Regions from separate parts of the Homo sapiens genome. Here region 1 is linked to region 2. Evidence: promoter capture Hi-C in human tissues and cell types (Jung and others, 2019). All regions are on one chromosome and are shown on one strand. The core of a region is centred on a gene start or on the middle of the fragment in contact, and the rest is flanking DNA. Distances in the headings are between cores, read along the strand shown.

Region 1 (5,624 bases), core at 2,922-5,421, 530 kb after region 2:
CTCTGAACTGCTTACAGCTGCAGAAGTCATTTGGAGGTTGGGACAGGGAAGGAAGATCTCTACCAGTTGAAAAGAGATTTGGAACTATTTCATGTTAAGTCGGGTCAAGGGATCGTTCTGCTGTTGGAAGAGATTTTACTCAAGCAGAGGTGGTGGTGCTTCCTAGCTCCCCCTCCCATATGGGGATGGGGGAGAGGAGGCTCAAGCTTGGTGGGGGTCGGGGTGGAGGCAAACATAAATTGCAGAGAGCTTACTGAGCTCCAGGCTCCCACCCTACCTTGTTCTGTGACCTCACATCACAGCATGACTCTTCTCAGCGACTCTGATACCTGCAAAAGATAGAAATTCTCTTTGTCCTGTGAAGCATTGCACTTACAGGACAAACTGTGAGATGCTCATGGACACTGGGCATCAGCAAATGCACATTAAAACAAATTAGATGCCAGTTTGTGGCTATCAGATGAGCAGAAATCAGGAGATGGGTAGTTCTGAGCACTGGCCAGGGCATGGGGACCAGGGACAGTCACGCACTCTCGAAGCGTTGAAAGCTGCAGCTCTTCCGGAACTGCCCAGTGCAGGTTCCCTGGGCAACTTGGCAAGACCTTGTCTCTACAAATTTTTTTTTTTGAAACGCAGTTTCCCTCTGTTGCCCAAGCTGGAGTCCAATGGTGTGATCTTGGCTCACACCACAACCTCCGCCTCCTGGGTTCAAGCGATTGTCTTGCCTCAGCCTCCCGAGTAGCTGGGATTACAGGCATGCGCCACCACACCTAGCTAATTTTGTATTTTTAGTAGAGGCGGGGTTTCTCCATGTTGCTCGGGCTGATCTTGAACTCCCAACCGCAGGTGATTTGCTTGCCTTGGCCTCCCAAAGTGCTGGGATTACAGACGTGAGCCACCGCACCCAGCCAATTTTTTTTTTTTTTTTTTTGACATGGGGTCTTGCTCTGTCACCTAGGCTGGAGTGCAGTGGTGTGATCTCAGCTCACTGCAAGCTCCACCTCCCGGGTTCATGCCATTCTCCTGCCTCAGCCTCCCCAGCAGCTGGTACTACAAGTGCCCACCACCACACCTAGCTAATCTTTTCATATTTTTTAGTAGAGACGGGGTTTCACCGTGTTAGCCAGGATGGTCTCAATCTCCTGACCTCGTGATCTGCCCGCCTCAGCCTCCCAAGGTGCTGGGATTACATGTGTGAGCCAGCATGCCTGGCCCCAATTTTTTTTTTATTAGCTGAGCATGGTGGTGGCCTGCCTGTGGTCCCAGCTACTCAGGAGGCTGAGGAGAAAGGATCTCTTGATAGGAGTTTGAGGTTTGAGACTGCAGTGAGCTGTGATTGAGCCACTGCACTCTAGTCTGGGTGACACAGTGAGACCCTATCTCAAAAACAAACAAAAAAACCCCAAACCCCACAAAATTATGTCTGATAAGGATCTAGTATCCACAATATGTAAAGAACGCCTACAAATCAACAACAAAAAGAACCCAATTTAAAAATGAGCAAAGGACTTTATTTTCTCCCAAGCAGATATACACATGGCCAACCGGGAGATGAAAAAGATACTCAACATCATCAGGGGATCATTAGGGAAGTGCAAATCAAAATAACAGTGAGATATCACTTCACATCCAGTAGGATGGCCACAAAAAATAAAAAAAAAAAAAAAGGAAAATAGTGACAGTGAGGGCATGATGGCTCACACCTGTAATCCCAACACTTTGGGAGCCTTAGGCAGGCAGATCGCTTGAGCCCAGGAGTCCAAAACCAGCCTGGGCAACATGGCAAAATCCCACAACAAAAGATACAAAAAATTAGCCTGTCCTGGTGGCACACGCTTGTAGTAACCCAGCTACTCAGAAGGGTGAGGTGGGAGGATCACTTGAACCTGGGGAGATTGAGGTTGCAGTCAGCTGTGATTGAGCCACTGCACTCCAGCCTGGATGACAGAGCAAGACCCTGTCTCAAAAAAAAAAAAACAAAAAAAAAAACTGCTGGGAGCAGTGGCTCACACCTGTAATCCCAGCACTTTGGGAGGCTGAGGCTGGCAGATCACGAGGTCAGGAGAACAAGACCATCCTGGCTCTGTCATCCAGGCTGGAGTGCAGTGGTGCAATCTCAGCTCACTGCAGCATCTGCCTCCTGGGTTCAAGCGATTCTCTTGCCTCAGCTTCTCAAGTAGCTGGGATTATAGGTGTGTGCCACCACACCCAGCTGATTTTTGTATTTTTAATACAAACAGAATTTCGATACGTTGGCCAGGCTGGTCTTGAACTCCTGACCTCAGGTGATCCACCCTCCTTGGCCTCCTAAAGTGCTGGGATTACAGGCGTGAGCCACCGCACCCAGCCAATTGTACACTTTTTTTTGAGACAGAGTCTTGCTCTGTTGCCAGGCTGGAGTGCAGTGGTGTGATCTCGGCTCACTGCAACCTCTGGCCCCTGGGTTCAAGCGATTCTCCTGCCTCAGCCTCCCGAGTAGCTGGGACTACAGGCGTGTGCCTGTGTACCTGGTTAATTTTTGTATTTTTAGTAGAGACGGGGTTTCACCATGTTGGCCGGAATGGTCTTGATCCCCTGACCTCAGGTGATCTGCCTGCCTCGGCCTCCCAAAGTGCTGGGATCACAGGTGTGAGCCACTGCGCCTGGCCTGTACACTTTTAAACGATTAAAATGGTAACTTTTATGTTCCATATTTCTTTTTCTTTTTCTTTCTTTTTTTTTTCTTTTTTGAGATGGAGTGTCGCTCTTGTTGCCCAATTGGAGTGCAATGGCGCAATCTCAGCTCACCACAACCTCCACCTCCTGGGTTCAAGCGATTCTCCTGCCTCAGCCTCCCAAGTAGCTGGGATTACAGGCATGCGCCACCGCGCCCAGCTAATTTTGTATTTTCGGTAGAGATGGGGTTTCTCCATGTTGGTCAGTCTGGTCTCAAACTCCTGACCTCAGGTGATCCGTCCACCTCGGCCTCCCAAAGTGCTGGGATTACAGGCATGAGCCACCGCGCCCGGCTGCAACAGCAATATATTGACTCAGAGGAGGACAGGTGCTGCTGAAAGGGGCTGAGAGAATCTGATCCTGGCTCAGCACAGCTGGGGATTGGCCTCCTCCATGGCCTTTTGTTTGTTTGCTTTTGTGTTTTTTTTGGAGACAGCATCTCACTATGTTGCCCAGGCTGAACTCCTGGACTCAATGGTCCTCCTGCTTAGGCCTCCCAAAGTGCTGGGATTACAGGCATGAGCCACTGCACCCAGCCTAGGACTCTTTTTGAAAAAACAACCACAAGCTGGGCGCGGTGGCTCATTCCTGTAATCCCACCACTTTGGGAAGCCGAGACGGGCGGATCACGAGGTCAGGAGTTCAAGACCAGCCTGGCCAACATGGTGAAACCCATCTCTACTAAAAATACAAAAATTAGCCAGGCATGGTGGCGTGCGCCTGTAATCCCAGCTATTCCAGAGGCTGAGGCAGGAGAATTGCTTGAACCCACATGGCAGAGGTTGCAGTGAGCCGAGATTGAGCCACTGCACTCCAGCCTGGGTGACAGAGCAAGACTCTATCTCAAAAAAAAAAAAAAAAAAAAAAAAATCACAGTATCATGCCCCCACCCACCAATTATTGATCGATACTTAGTATCATCTAATGTCCAAATTTCCTTGGTTGTCTTAAATTTTTTGTTGTTGTTTTGTTTGTCTGTTTTTTTGGGGGGACAGGGTCTTGCTTTGTTGCCCAGGCTAGAGTGCAGTGGCACAATCACAGCTCACTGCAGCCTCGACTTCCTAGGCTCAAGCAATCCTCCCACCTCAGCCGCTTGAGTAGCTGGGACTACAGGCGTGCACCACCATGCCCAGATAATTTTTAAACTTTCTGTAGAGATGGGGTCTCCCTATGTTGCTTAGGCTGGTCTCAAGCTCCTGGTCTCAAGAGATCCTCTCACCTCAGCCTCCTAAAATGTGGCGATTACAGGTGTGAGCCACCATGCCCAGCCTTAAATTTCTTTCTTTTTTTTTTTTGAGACGGAGTCTCACTCTGTCACCCGGGCTGGAGTGCAGTGGTGTGATCTCGGCTCGCTGCAAGCTCCGCCTCCTGGGTTCATGCCATTCTCCTGCCTCAGCCTCCCGAGTAGCTGGGACTACAGGCGCCCACCACCACGCCCGGCTGGTGTATTTTTAGTAGAGACGGGGTATTTTTTTTGTATTTTTTTGTATTTTTTTTGTATTTTTAGTAGAGACGGGGTTTCACCGTGTTGGCCAGGATGGTCTCGATCTCCTGACCTCGTGATCCACCCGCCTCGGCCCCCCAAAGTGCTGGGATTACAGGCGTGAGCCACCGCGACCCACCTAAATTTCTTTTAACGGTTGGTTTCCAATCATTGCACTTGGCCACTATGTCTCTTAAATCTCTTTTAACCGCGGGATTTACCCTCTTTCATTTTTCTCCTTTCAGGTTATTTGTGGAAGAAGGCAGGTCTTTTGTTCCAAAGGGTTCCACCTGTCTGGATTTTGCTGATTTCGTCCTTGTGGTTGATGTGGCACGTTCCTCAACCCTTATATTTCCTATAGTCAGTTAGCTCTAGGTGTAAATGTCCAAACTGGTCTGTTTAATCTCATTCAGGTTGATTTTTTTAGCAAGAAGATGACCACAGGGTGGGTGCAACTTCATGGAGAGGGAAAGAGTCCCACAGAGCCTGATGTTGTGATATTAGCAGCCATTGGAAATCCCTGCCAGGACCTGCTATTTCATTAGTGGTTACAAATTATTCTCCCCCTCCACTCCCCTCCCCTCCCTCTTTTCTCCTCTCCTCCTCTCCCTCCCTCCCTCCTTCTCTCCTTCCCTCCTTCCCTCCCTCCCTTTCTTTTTTGATGGAGTCTCACTCTCTCGCCGCTGGAGTGCGGCCTCCGCCTCCAGTTTCCAGCAATTCTCCTGCCTCAGCCTCCTGAGTAGCTGGGACTATAGGCGCCCACCACCACGCCTGGCTAATTTTTTTTTTGTATTTTTAGTAGAGATGGGATTTCACCGTGTTAGCCAGGATGGTCTTGATCTCCTGACCTCGTGATCTGCCTGTCTCGGCCTCCCAGAGTGCTGGGATTACAGGCGTGAGCCACTGCGCCTGGCCTATTTCTTTCTTTTTTTTAATGGAGTTTTGCTCTTGTTGCCCAGACTGGAGTCCGGTGGTGTGATCTCGGCTCACTGTAACCTCCACCTTCTGGGTTCAAGCGATTCTCCTGCCTCAGCTTCCCAAGTAGCTGGGATTATAGGTGCCCACCACCATGCCCCACTAATTTTTGTATTTTCTGTAGAGCCAGGGTTTCACCATGTTGGTTGGCCAGGCTGGTCTTGAACTTCTGACCTCAGGTGATCTGCCCACCTTGGCCTTCCAAAGTGCTGGGATTACAGGCATGAGGCACTGCACCTGGCCTTTTCTTTTCTTTTCTTCTTTTCTTTCCCTTTCTCCCTCCCTTTCTTCTCCCTTCCTTCCTTCCTTCCCTTCTTTCTTTCCCTCCCTCCCTCCCTTCTTTCTTTTTCTTTTTTCTTTCTTTCCTTTTTTCTCTCTTTCTTTTCTTTCTCCTCTTTCTTTCTTGCTTGCTTTCTTTCTTGCTTGCTTTCCTTCTTCCTTTCCTCTTTCC
Region 2 (2,601 bases), core at 1-2,500:
CAGCCTCCCACAAGAAGCTGGTGGAGCAGAGTGTTCCCTGACGCCTCCAAGGAAAGGAGACTCCCCTTCGCAGTCTTCTAAGTAACGGGTGGCTTCCCAGACAACGGCATTACTGCTTGACCAAGGAGCCCTCAAGCAGCCCTTATGCGGGAGTGACAGAGGGCTCACCTCTTGCCTTCTAGGTCACTTCTCACAATGTCCCTAGGTTATATTAGTAATGCAACAAAGAGTAATATTAAAAGCTAATGATTAATAATGTTTATACTAATGATTGATAATTATCCATGATCATGATCATTTTTATATCTAATTTGTATTATGACTATTTTTATTTTAACTGTTTTTTTTTTAAAGATGGAGTCTTGCTCTGTCGCCCAGGCTGGAGTGCAGTGGCGCAATCTCGGCTCACTGCAAGCTCCGCCTCCTGGGTTCGCGCCATTCTCCTGCCTCAGCCTCCTGAGTAGCTGGGACTACAGGTGCCCGCCACCGCGCCCGGCTAATTTTTTGTATTTTTAGTAGAGATGGGGTTTCACCGTGTTAGCCAGGATGGTCTCGATCTCCTGACCTCGTGATCCACCCGCCTCGGCCTCCCAAAGTGCTGGGATTACAGGCGTGAGCCACCGCTCCCGGCCTATTTTCTTTGTTATACTGAAACAGTTTGTGTCTTCAGTCTCTTGCCTTGGCATCTAGGTAATCCTTCGCCCACAGATGAAAGCGGAGCTCTGCTGACATTGGTGTCTTCTCCAGACGTAGTTGGTTGTCCAAATTCTTTCCCTTGGCTTTAAAGTGAGCCGGCGGTGTCCTGCTCCCAAGCCTGAGAGATGATGGGCACAGGCGACACTTTTTAGGACATGCCGATGTTTTCAGAAACAAAACAAGAAATGTTAGCCCTGAAATTCTCCATTTCACGTGTTCTTCCTGATATTAACCACACATTCTTTCCGATATTAACCACCACATCGTCTTTTTGCAATAATCTTGGCAGGGAAAAATATGCTAGCCAGGGTCCACTACGTCGATTTCAAGCACGGAAGATGGGTCACACCAGGCACTTCAAAAGACCCGTCCCTGAGGCAGCGGAGACCCCGCCCCGCCCCGGCGCGCCCACTCCTTTCGGCCAATCACTGCAGCGGGGAGCAGCTATTTGAATGTCCCCACCGCCTATCTGAAGGCCGCCCTGCCATTGGCCCCGCCGCGCCCCGCCCATCGTGGCCAGAGCTTCAAGTTCCGCAGCCCCAGTGCGGAGGGCGGAGACTGCGCCGACATGGAGCTGTTCCTCGCGGGCCGCCGGGTGCTGGTCACCGGGGCAGGCAAAGGTGGGCGGCGGGGAAAGGTGGGCAAAGGCCGGCGGCGGGCAGAGGCGGGCAGGGGACGCCTTCACTGAGCCCGCTCCCGGCAGGTATAGGGCGCGGCACGGTCCAGGCGCTGCACGCGACGGGCGCGCGGGTGGTGGCTGTGAGCCGGACTCAGGCGGATCTTGACAGCCTTGTCCGCGAGGTAGGTCCCGCCGGGTCCCAGCGCTGCGAGGCGGCGAGCCAGGAGGGGGCGGCAGCGAGCGGGGGCGGTACCTCTGTGCGCGACTCCGCCTCCCCTCGCGGGCGCTGCGCTTCTCACCGCGGCCTGGGCGCCCGCGCACCCTCTCTCGGGGCTGGTGGCCTGCGTGGGCGGCCGGGTGGTCGGCAGAGCCGCCGGGGCCCCCGGGCTCAGAAAGAGGCCGAAATGGCTGCGAAGCAGGCCCCGGGCAGGAGTCGCTCGGGCGCAGGGAGGAAGTGAACCGGCCGGAGGTAGCGCCCGGCTGCTGGCCCCACAGTCCCGACACCTTCGGAACTCCTAACTCCTTTACTTGTCCGGCTGAAAGGTCACCAGCCCCAGTCCCCAGCTGTGCCGCTTGCTGGGCACAGAGCCTCTGGTAACTGCCCCCTGATACACACAGTGCCCGGGGATAGAACCCGTGTGCGTGGACCTGGGTGACTGGGAGGCCACCGAGCGGGCGCTGGGCAGCGTGGGCCCCGTGGACCTGCTGGTGAACAACGCCGCTGTCGCCCTGCTGCAGCCCTTCCTGGAGGTCACCAAGGAGGCCTTTGACAGGTGAGCCTGTGAGGGCGGAGGAACCTCAGGGAGGGGCTGTCCTGGAGGACGCAGCAGCCCTAATCTCTGACCAGGGTCTGTCCCTCGGCCTCTAGATCCTTTGAGGTGAACCTGCGTGCGGTCATCCAGGTGTCGCAGGTGAGCTGCCCTGTGGGCTGGACGGGAATTCTCGTGAGTGATGCCAGCTCTGCCTCACGGTCTCGCTGCGATTCCAGATTGTGGCCAGGGGCTTAATAGCCCGGGGAGTCCCAGGGGCCATCGTGAATGTCTCCAGCCAGTGCTCCCAGCGGGCAGTAACTAACCATAGCGTCTACTGTGAGTGCCCCAGCTGTGCCCTCAGCCCCACCCCAGCCCCAGCCTCGCCCTCATCACCGACCCCAGCCCCAGCCAGCTTGGGTTCCTCTTCGTAGGCTCCACCAAGGGTGCCCTGGACATGCTGACCAAGGTGATGGCCCTAGAGCTCGGGCCCCACAAGGTGAGCAGGGCTGGGGTACCTCCCCCAACCTAGGACAC

What was found. The method cuts DNA at HindIII sites, captures the fragments that hold promoters and counts their contacts. A contact is called where the count stands out against the background at its distance.
Region 1: a fragment that was not itself captured here is called in contact with the fragment with the promoter of DCXR in region 2 in 1 of the 25 tissues and cell types used here (spleen).

Annotation. Positions count from the first base shown.
Region 1 is chr17:81,503,756-81,509,379 of GRCh38, reverse strand. No RefSeq gene overlaps it. Among named protein-coding and RNA genes, the nearest start is that of ACTG1, 6.2 kb to the left of the region's middle. The HindIII fragment of the contact is 9,311 bases long and covers 1-5,624 here.
Region 2 is chr17:82,036,346-82,038,946 of GRCh38, reverse strand. It overlaps DCXR (dicarbonyl and L-xylulose reductase), which reads left to right and starts at 1,250. Exons shown (of 8, transcript NM_016286.4): 1 at 1,250-1,316; 2 at 1,400-1,497; 3 at 1,934-2,088; 4 at 2,184-2,226; 5 at 2,304-2,403; 6 at 2,499-2,563. The coding sequence starts at 1,265. DCXR-DT (DCXR divergent transcript) reads right to left here and starts at 1,029. Exons shown (of 2, transcript NR_159948.1): 1 at 679-1,029. RefSeq lists a silencer at 1,030-1,859. The HindIII fragment of the contact is 8,854 bases long and covers 1-2,601 here.